Regions from separate parts of the Homo sapiens genome. Here regions 2 and 3 are each linked to region 1. The links are contacts of gene promoters, found by promoter capture Hi-C in human tissues and cell types (Jung and others, 2019). All regions are on one chromosome and are shown on one strand. Each heading gives the region's core, a stretch centred on a gene start or on the middle of the fragment in contact. The rest is flanking DNA. Distances are from core to core; before and after follow the strand shown. Region 1 holds the start of PLCXD3 (phosphatidylinositol specific phospholipase C X domain containing 3). Region 2 overlaps PLCXD3 (phosphatidylinositol specific phospholipase C X domain containing 3). Region 3 has its middle 90 kb from the start of PLCXD3.

What was found. The method cuts DNA at HindIII sites, captures the fragments that hold promoters and counts their contacts. A contact is called where the count stands out against the background at its distance.
Region 2: a contact is called between a fragment that was not itself captured here and the fragment with the promoter of PLCXD3 in region 1, in 2 of the 25 tissues and cell types used here (adrenal gland and neural progenitor cells).
Region 3: a contact is called between a fragment that was not itself captured here and the fragment with the promoter of PLCXD3 in region 1, in 5 of the 25 tissues and cell types used here (aorta, bladder, heart right ventricle and 2 more).

Annotation. Positions count from the first base shown.
Region 1 is chr5:41,508,422-41,512,055 of GRCh38, forward strand. PLCXD3 (phosphatidylinositol specific phospholipase C X domain containing 3) reads right to left here and starts at 2,180. Exons shown (of 3, transcript NM_001005473.3): 1 at 2,003-2,180. The coding sequence starts at 2,105. RefSeq lists an enhancer at 1,706-2,534. The HindIII fragment of the contact is 4,804 bases long and covers 403-3,634 here.
Region 2 is chr5:41,420,885-41,424,304 of GRCh38, forward strand. The region is part of intron 1 of PLCXD3 (phosphatidylinositol specific phospholipase C X domain containing 3); the gene reads right to left. Among named protein-coding and RNA genes, the nearest start is that of PLCXD3, 88 kb to the right of the region's middle. The HindIII fragment of the contact is 4,490 bases long and covers 1-3,420 here.
Region 3 is chr5:41,599,198-41,602,826 of GRCh38, forward strand. No RefSeq gene overlaps it. Among named protein-coding and RNA genes, the nearest start is that of PLCXD3, 90 kb to the left of the region's middle. The HindIII fragment of the contact is 7,979 bases long and covers 1-3,629 here.

The DNA.
Region 1 (3,634 bases), core at 930-3,429:
TAAGGGGTCAGATCCCTGAACTGATAGGGATAAATAGTAAGTCATTTGTCTTCACTTAGCTTCAGTTTTTTCATCTGTGACATGGAGGTAATAGTGCCAGCACTCCCTGCTTCATGGGGTTTTAGAAGGATTTTGTGAGCTGGTGTACATAACAGGGCTTTGAAAAGTGAAATATTACAGAAATGTAAGGTAGACTCAAAAAGATATCATACCATCTCAGAACTAGATAAACAAACATAGGCTTTTAATCCTGTAGCTCTAGAGAGTCACCTGCCAGAAGGTTTGCATCACAGTGATTGCCCTTCTTACCTTCTATGCATATAAAAACATTCAGGGGAAACCATGTGAAAGAAGCTGTCTAAAATCCAAATAAAAATGAAGGAAGAAAAGGAATGGGAATGCCTGTGGAAGTGAGAATGGAGTTATGCCAAAGTTGTGCTTTCTACTGTCTCCTTGAAAAGAGCAATCTCCAGGCTTGCCTAGGTAGCAGAATAAGTGCTGCATGGAGAAGCTGGGGTTGGTTCTTTTCCTTGGAGATTCCTGGCCGGTAGCAAGCTATCTGTTGAAGAAGGACGAAAGGAGACAGCCCCTTCTGTGGATAGCACTTGTAGTAGCCTGTGCCTGCCATTGCTGCCAAACATCCACTTGACTAACAACCATTGATTTGAGGGACTGATCAATGGCAGCACTCTTGGTTGGAGCATCTAGTGATTTTCAAAATAACCCTTCTTTTGTTTTTGTTTTTGTTGTTTTTTTCTTTATTATGTTTTCCTCCAACAGCTGAGAGGGGGCGCTGGATGGGGCAGATCAAGAGGAGGTAGACCATAACGTTGAGTTTAATAGCCCAGCTCAGCTCAGGGCCAGAAGTGAACTGTTCATGAGTAATTTGCCCTCCAGCCCAGCTCTGAAAAGATCAAGTGTGTGCTCCCCCAGCCCAACTGCATAGCCAAATTGACAATAAAGTATGGCCGTGTCCCAGCTGTCATTGTTGTAAACTGTCCTGAAACGACCCTCACTCCTGGATACCTGATCTAGGGGGTTGTTAGGAGCTGCCACCCTAGAAACCTGCCCAGTCTCTGGTCCAAGTCGCACACATCAAGCTGAAGCTTCTTGATCCCTCAGGTCTCTTCCTCGCTTTGTCCACGCTTCTTTCCTTCTAGACTGTCTGGACACATTCTCAGTCACCTTTTCCGTACTATTTGCCTATTAATCCCACCCCTCCGCTCAGGTCACGCAGGTTCCCCTGCCCAGCTTCTGTCCCGAGCAGTAAACATACGGTCCGCAAGGGTTTGCTTTTTTGACCTGGGCGAAGTGTGTTGCCAACACGCACTTGGACCAGACTCGAGACAGCGGCCACTCGGCCAGGTCCCCCGGGGTCCAAACCGATACGAAATGGTGCCCTCTGCCCGTCGCCCCCTTGGGCTCCTTTTCAAGGGCAGCTATCACGCCGCCTCTGGTCCCTGAACTTTCATCACTCTTCGGGAAGCGCTTTGTCTTTTTAAAGGAGATTGGGGACGAATATTAATGACTGTAGCCGAGAATCTATCAAATCCGCCCAATTCCATGCCAGGGATAGACTCAGGTCCTTGCACCGAAGGCGAGCCCCTGACACTAGCTCGCGTTCTTCACACACGGTCACCCCGCAGACCCAGAGATTTCTCCCACTTCCCCAAATCTGCAGGAGAAACCATAGGAGGGGGTCACGAGGCACCATCCTGGAGCCCAGCTTCTCCTCTGCCCCAGTCCTCCGCATACAACCTGCTTCAAAAGCCCAGGAGAAAAGCAGTCACCTTGACTCTAGCGCCTCGGTCCTTAGGGGTTTGGAAAACGCCAGGAAGCCCAAGGCTACCCGGCACGCGCTCGCCTGGCCTGAGACCCACCCTGGAAGACGAGTTTCCCTCCCGCGGGCATCGTGGCAAGTTACCACTTAGTGGCAGATAAAGCAGGGCGGGGCAGGTGGAGCGGGCGCCGAGCGCCTAGCCCGCAGCCCCTGCGCGCCTACCTGGAATGGCTAAATTGGTGAGGGGGATGCTGTGCATGCTCTCCGGCAGAGTTGCCATCCAGTCGGCTAATTTCAGCTCGTTTTTCCCCTGAGACGAGGCCATCGTGCCAGTCGGCGTGCAGCGCGCTGGTCCCAGCACTCCTCGGGCAGGCTGGCAGGCTGCTGCCGCTAATCCAATGTTTGCTCTAGCCCCGCTAGAGTTTACACTCCTCTCTGCGCCACACCCACAGGATGGCGCAGACACATGCTAATTTTAATAATTATTCAAAACACCCCGTGCTCCCTTAGTGCCTCCGCCAGACTCCGCTGGAGCTTTTGTTCCTGACGTCCGTGCTCAGCTCTCTCCGCTCTCCCCTCCCTCCCCAACCCCCTCCTCCCGTCTTATCCTTCCTAGGCGTCTCTGCCTTTCCTCGCCATTCTGCAGCTTTCCCTGGTTTCTTATTTTTCTTTTCTATTCATTTTTTTCCAACTGCTTTGCCCATGGCTTGCTCGATCCTTTGCTGTGACTTTCTCGTCCTGTTTGTATGAAAGACAGTCTTGCACTTGAACCTAAAATCCTAGCAGACTTTGGGATGTTATTGCCTCCTGAGGAACAGACTTCTCATGCTGGGTTTCAGGGCTTTCCGTCCTTATCAAAGAGCTTTCCTTTTTGTAATCTACAACAGGTTATACCTTTCCTCAGCCAGAGACCACAACCCTGTTTATTAAAAAATGATTATCTTTATTCACTCTTTTGCCTACTTTGTGAAATAGCTGGTAAGTATGAGTCAGTGAAGGGCATGGTAAATTCTAGGTGGTTCCTACTTAATCCTGGGTACCTTGCTCCAGACATTTCAAAGTCAAGAAATGCTACTCCCCCTTCTTTTCTCAGATCATGAGAAGTCTACATTATTTCCATGGAGAACACTGCCTCTGTCCTGTCAGTTTCATGGCACTCAGGGTAAGACTGGAGCCTTATGCTGGAAGAAAATCGCCACATCTCCCAGTGACATGCTCTAATTATTGCCAGTAGCATTTGGTGGAATGTATTTGGCACCATTCAAAGTGATCTATGTGACTGTCTGCATTTTCATTCCTTTGCAGACTGGAAAGATGTGCCTCTCTCAAGAGAAATCACTCACTGGGCCTCCAAAGAACTGTCTGGGTCCACCTGCTCTCAGATGAGTAAAAGGAGAGAGATGAAGTTTTACAAATGTAATGAGAGCAGCAGTGGCCTGAATAGGAATTATAAGAGATGAACTGAAAGTGTGCTGGGCTTTTGCAACCCAGGAAATGGAAATGCAATAAACAGACCTCTGTTCTTTCATGCCAGGGTTGTGTAAATTTTTATTTTTCTATGGGAAATGCTATTAGATTGCGGAAATGACAATCAACATAGGAGACAAAGAGAGCCATGAAACATGAGAATAATTATTCAAGGTTAGTAAATCCATTTAATCCCAAATAGCATTAAAAAATAAGAAAAAACCTAGAGCCTACCTTATTTTCTACAATGATGCTAAGTCCTAAGAATATTCACCCCCAAATGGGGAGCACTATGGGAAAGATAGAGGAGAGGCAACGCCTTATTTTGGTTATCAAATTTTCCATGCCCCTTGTAAAATAAATTCATACCTTCAAGAGGACATGGTA
Region 2 (3,420 bases), core at 567-3,066, 88 kb before region 1:
ACCATATAACTCCATTATGTGAGGCTACAGATAATAAAATGCTACTATTTATTAATACTCAGGGATACTTTTCCCCTGCATTTCCTGCATTCTTTCAGTGGAATCTTACCCACAAGTAGATCCCTGATATCCTTTTACTCTCCTAAGGTAAAGGGAACATCATTCCAGTGATAATATCTGATCTCTCAAGCCCTAAAGAAGTTATTTTCTGGTAACATAAAAATGGAAAGATATGCCTAATATAAAATGTTAGGCATATTTTAGGATAATATTAGGCATAATATCCAAACATCAAAACAGAGTGTATTAAATTCTCACTGAGTCATATTTCTGTTTGTGCAACAGTTTTATAAAATTTATTGTCAACTATACATTATTCAATCCCTAATTCTTTTTTAATTGTCTTCTGGACCATATTGCTCTAATATATAAGTAATTTGAGGGTAGGTAGGGTCCATGAATTATATTTCTTATAATAGCCTATAGAGTATTATTCCGTTAGATGTTTAGCAGATCCTTAAAAAATACTCTTTGGAGCTGGGCGCGGTGGCTCACGCCTGTAATCCCAGCACTTTGGGAGGCCGAGGCGGGCTGATCACAAGGTCAGGATATTGAGACCATCCTGGCTAACACGGTGAAACCCCGTCTCTACTAAAAATACAAAAAATTAACCGGGCGCGGTGGCGGGGGCCTGTAGTCCCAGCTACTCGGGAGGCTGAGGCAGGAGAATGGCGTGAACCCGAGAGGCGAAGCTTGCAGTGAGCCGAGATTGCGCTACTGCAGTCAGGCCTGGGCGAAAGAGCGAGACTCCTTCTCAAAAAAACAAAACAAAACAAACAAACAAACAAAAAAGCTCTTTGGTAGAATTTAGATGAATGGAAAGCTTAAATATACGCACATTTTAATTTCAGCTGATTTGAAAGAATATTCAAACATAAGTCAACTCAGGTGTGCTAAAAAACTTTTTTTAGGTGACAAAGCAGTGAGATTCCAAGTCCTGGTTACCCGTTAATAAAACAAGCATTATGTAACAACATGCTTTTCTTCATATATTTACTATAATTCTCGATATCACTCAGAAATATAAACAACCTAGGTATTTCCATATATATATATATATTGCTAATGCATAGGAAGATATCAACCTACCTTTAAGAGTTACTTACATATGTATTAATTTAAACACACTTACTGTATTTTTATCTTTATTCTTAGTCTTTATAGACAATAGAAAGTATATATTATTGTAAAGGGCTATTGGAACTCCATATTTCTGAATTATTACTCACCTACAGCCAAATTAATCAGCTTGCTCTTTCCTATAAATAACTTCCTTATCCCTGACTGTTTTTTCACATACGCCTTCTCCGTTTTATCAGTCCTGGAAATGGCTTCAAAACATGACTGAAATCTCCTTGAGGAGCATAATGTGGAGGTAAGAATGTGGACTTGGCAGCAATATGAACCAGGGTTTAATCTTACCTTTGACTTTTACAAGGCTCTGTAGCCTTGGGAAATTTATCAACCACCATCTTTTCATATCTGGGTAGGATGGGTCTCATCCTTCCTTTTTACTACCTTAGTCCAAATTGCCTTGGCCAATCTTGGAGTTTCATTCTTTCATTTGAATTTTAGACTATATTAATCAGATATATTAAAAAATTGAAAAATTTGTTAGGATTGCATTAATTGATAGAAAAATTGCGAGACAATTGTCATCTTTATGATATTGACTCCTCCCACCTTCCAACATTATATTTCTCTTCATTTCCTCAGATCTTCTTTTAAAGAGTCTTCAATAAAGTTTTACACATTTATCTAAAAAGTTCCTATGCTCCTTTTGTCAGATTTATTTCCAGGTATCTTTTACTTCGTTTGCTATAAAAGTGGCATTTTTTTCCAGTATGTGTGTTTTTCTTTTGCTTTTTTTGATACTGTACTAGCTGGTCCTCCAACCCAGTGCTAAATAGCAGTAATAAAAACAGGCATCTTTGCCTTCTTTGTGAATTTAGAGAGTCCTTTTCATTGTGAAATAGAATACTAGGTTAGGTAGTTGATAGATATACTTTATCAGCTTAAGGAATCTCTCTTCTATTCTTAATTTTCTAAAAAGTATTAATTTTTTAAAAAAAATTATGAATGGGTGTTGAATATTATCAAATGCCTTTTCTATATTTGTGAGGTGATCAAATTATTTTTTCTTTTTTTATCTGTTAATATGGTAACATTAATAGATATTCTAATTTTAAACTATTCTTGCATTCTTCGCAGAAGCCCTATCTGACTTTGATTTATTATTTTATTTTTATCTTCTCCCAGAACAGTTTATATGAAAAATGGGTTATATGTTCTTTGATGGTTTGGTAGATTATGCTGGAAATATACTTTGGTCTAAATGCTGTGTTTTGTGGTTAGAATAAAGTTTTTTTATGCTTAATTATTATAAGGCTTTTGAATTTTCTGCTTCTAGTTGAGTCATTTTCAGTTAAGTTCTATTTTTTAAAAATATTAAGTTTTTCAAGTATATTGGCACAAAGTAGTTCATGGAATTCTCATAAAATTCTGCTGCATCAATAGTTATGGCCTTCATTTCTAGAATGATTATTTTTATATTCTCCTTTTTTCATCAATTTTTCCACAGATTAGTCTATTTTATTAGAAGAAATAGATTTTAATTTTGTTGACTCCATATTTTCTGATTTGATTTGTATCAGATGATTATATTATTACTTTATATATTTTTCTTTTCTAATATATACATAAAAGGTTGTGAATTTCTGGCCGGGCGTGGTGGATCACGCCTGTAATCCCAGCACTTTGGGAGGCCGAGGCGGACGGATCACCTGAGGTCAGGAGTTCGAGACCAGCCTGGATCCATTTTTGCTCTCATCATTTTTTTTCTCCTTTATTGAGTTTTGATCTTTCCCTACCTTTGTTGAGATATATTTGAAAAATAAAAACTGTATATATTTAAGGTGTACAACTTGATGTTTTGATACATTGTGAAATAATCACAAACTAATTAAAATACCCATCACCTCACATAGTTACCATTATCTTTCTTTTGTATGTGTTTTGTGAGAATACTTAAGACCAACTCTTCAAGCACTTTTCAAATATACAATATAGTATGTTAACTATAGTCACACTGCTATACATTAGATCTCCAGAAATTATTTGTCTTGCAAAATTCAAACTTTCTACCCTTTGACCAACATCTCTCCATTCCCCTTCCCCCAGCCCCCAGCAACTATTCACAATAGCCAATATATGGGTTTAATTTCCTTTTTATTTTTCTAACTTTTGGGTTAGATGATTATATTATTACTTTATATATTTTTCTTTTCTAATATATACATAAAAGGTTGTGAATTTCTGGCTGGGCGCGGTGGCTCACGCCTGTAATCCCAGCACTTTGAG
Region 3 (3,629 bases), core at 175-2,674, 90 kb after region 1:
AAATTAGTACATGTAGTAAACAGAACAATAGAAAAGAGAAAATCTTCCGAGTGGGAAGATAATAGATAAATTCTAAAAGTGGAAAACCAAGAAGTACCAATATAAAGCATGTTCTTTAGAGAAATTACAATAAATAAATAATGATCAGAAACAACAGGTGCTGGAGAGGATGCGGAGAAATAGGAACACTTTTACACTGTTGGTGGGACTGTAAACTAGTTCGACCATTGTGGAAGTCAGTGTGGCGATTCCTCAGGGATCTAGAACTAGAAATACCATTTGACCCAGCCATCCCATTACTGGGTATATACCCAAATGACTGTAAATCATGCTGCTATAAAGACACATGCACACGTATGTTTATTGCGGCACTATTCACAATAGCAAAGACTTGGAACCAACCCAAATGTCCAACAATGATAGACTGGATTAAGAAAATGTGGCACATATACACCATGGAATACTATGCAGCCATAAAAAATGATGAGTTCATATCCTTTGTAGGGACATGGATGAAATTGGAAACCATCATTCTCAGTAAACTATCGCAAGAACAAAAAACCAAACACCGCATGTTCTCACTCATAGGTGGGAATTGAACAATGAGATCACATGGACACAGGAAGGGGAATATCACACTCTGGGGACTGTGGTGGGGTCGGGGGAGGGGGGAGGGATAGCATTGGGAGATATACCTAATGCTAGATGACACATTAGTGGGTGCAGCGCACCAGCATGGCACATGTATACATATGTAACTAACCTGCACAATGTGCACATGTACCCTAAAACTTAGAGTATAATAATAATAAAAAAAAAAAAAAAGAAAGTTTAATTGTCTCTGAGCAGCAGGAAGTCAGGGTAACAGTGGCATCTACTGTTTTTCATACAAGACCTTGTATGGTAAACAACCATTTTTATCTTCAAACTGTGTACATGTATACATTTTTATTTCTTTATTTATTTTAAACAAGAATGCCTTACTATGCTACCTTTCAGTTAGGTTATTTTGTTTCACTACATGGTATGTTTAAGCTTAGTTGTGAAATAAAGAATTCGTGACTAAATTCTACACATTTACTAATAATGAGTATATAGATCCAAGGTCTAATCAATATATATTGGAAAATGAATAAATAGTGAATTAATGAATGAAAAATTAAATGTTCACTTTGTATTGAATGTCAAAACCATATATAACCTCCTTTAATTACTATAAACAGAAAAACATTAGACCAATTTGCTGAAAATTTCTGACATATTGTTTGTCATCATCAACAAGAAATAATCTGGCTATAATATAGAAATTTAAGAAAATACTGAATAAACTATAAATCATATTTTTAAAAATGCATCAGAGAGATAAAGATGCACAGACACCTCAATGACCAAAACTCAGAGAGGGACAATCCCTATGTGAGCACAGTCTGGAAGGTTCTTTCATTTCTTGGGGTCACAGGGCACTGAGAAGTAAGCCCACCACACACCAGGAGAATTTGCCCCAACCTGAAGAAACCAGCTAAAATTTAATAACCCTGTGGGATATGCTATAGATGAGACAGTGAAGAAGCCCCAGGCAGAACTAGCTCACCTTGCCCATTGTTTCCCCAACGGATTTCTTTCTTTACTGAGTGTGTGGCTGCTTGCAGGAGCTGTTAAGCAAAAAGGAATATCCAGTGATTGATGGAGCCCGTACCAGTGCATGAGAACCAATTATGTATGTCTCTTCCTGAGTCTGCATTCAGTAACATGTCAGTAGACTGAAACTGCACATGGTGGCAGCATTCATACTACAGACATCAGCAGATGCTGCAAATTAGACTTTCTTTTTAGGACAGTTCATTAAGCATTTACCAGCACACCACTGGCTATATTCCATGGTACAGGATACTGCAGGCTGGGCAGAAAAGTTGAGTAAGTATAGTCTCAAAGTGCCTAAAACTCAAGCCTTGCTGGAAGAAGTAACCTAAATCTGCTCTGAGGGCATTTGTAACTGGTGGCGAACTGAAATTAAATACAGCCCAATCCTGACCTAGGTTAATTCATAATGAGAAGAAATCAGCTCCTAACCCCTGACAGATGAAACATTGTACACTTTCTGGAGCTAAATACTATTTATTTCAATCTCTACTTTTTTATACACAATATCTAACATATCAAAATAATTTTCATATAAGCCAAAGTAGGAATATACCATCCAGCAGAAGAAAAAAACTGTTCAGTGAAGTAGACTCACAGAAAATCCAGGTGCAAGAATTAGAAAACAAGAACTTAAAAATACCTATTATAAATATGTTGCAGAAATAAGATTAAAAGGTAGATACCATGAGTAAAAAAGATAATGAATCTCAGCGGAGAAATAAAAAAATTAAGAAGTAAACAAAGGGAAATTTCTGGAACTGAGAGTATAATATACCCTATGAAGAATTCATATAATAGGGTCAATGGCAGACATAACAGAGCAGAAGAAAAGATCAGTAAACTCAGATAAGTCAATAGAAATTATCCAAACAGAACCACCAAAAAATGTAATATATATACATAAAAACGCACATATTTTACATACACAGTTCATCCTCACCATCTGTGGAGGATTGGCTCCAGGACCTCTTGTGGATACTAAAATCTAGAAATCTTTAAGTCCCTGTTACAAAATGCTGTGGTGTTTGCATATAACCTACACACATTCTTTTGTATACTTTAAATCACTAAATTATTTATAATACCTAAAATACTGTAAATGCTGTCTAAATCATTGTTATACTCTTTAGGGAATAATGGCAAGAAAAGAAGTCCATACATGTTTAGCACAGATGCACTGTTTTTAGAAAAATATTTTCAATCTTTGGTTTATGAAATCCATGGATGCAGAATCCATGAATATGGAAGGACAACTGTATATATAAATACATATACATACATATGTACATGCATGTATGCATACACACATTGAAAGAGAGAGAGGGAATGAGGCAAACAAAATATATAAATAGATCGGCCGGGCGCAGTGGCTCACGCCTGTAATCCCAGCACTTTGGGAGGCGGGCGGATCATGAGGTCAGGAGATCGAGATCATCCTGGCTAACATGGTGAAACCCTATCTCTACTAAAAATACAAAAAATTAGCAGGACGTGGTGGTGGGCGCCTGTAGTCCTAGCTACTCGGGAGGCTGAGGCAGGAGAATGGCGTGAACCCGGGAGGCAGAGCTTGCAGTGAGCTGAGATCACGCCACTGCACTCCAGCCTGGGCGACAGAGGGAGACTCCGTCTCGAAAAAAAAAAAAAAGAAAAAAAATGTTATATATGTATACACATATACGTATATATATATAGATTATGTTAAAGGATTTTTCAGAATCAGTAAGACATTAACTCATAGATTCAAAAAAGGCAACACATATAGAAACATTATAATCAATCTACTAAAAAATCAAGGGTTAAAAAAAGGTAAAGAAGAAAATCTTAAAACTCACCCAAAGTAAAAAGACACATATTCAAAAGAAAAACAGTAATAATTGTCACTCTCCATTTTTACTAATGAATCATAGTAGTCTTTCGGGATTCCGAAATAATTAGCACTAATTCAGAGTCACAGGGAAAAGTAAATATTTGGGAATATGTGTACAATT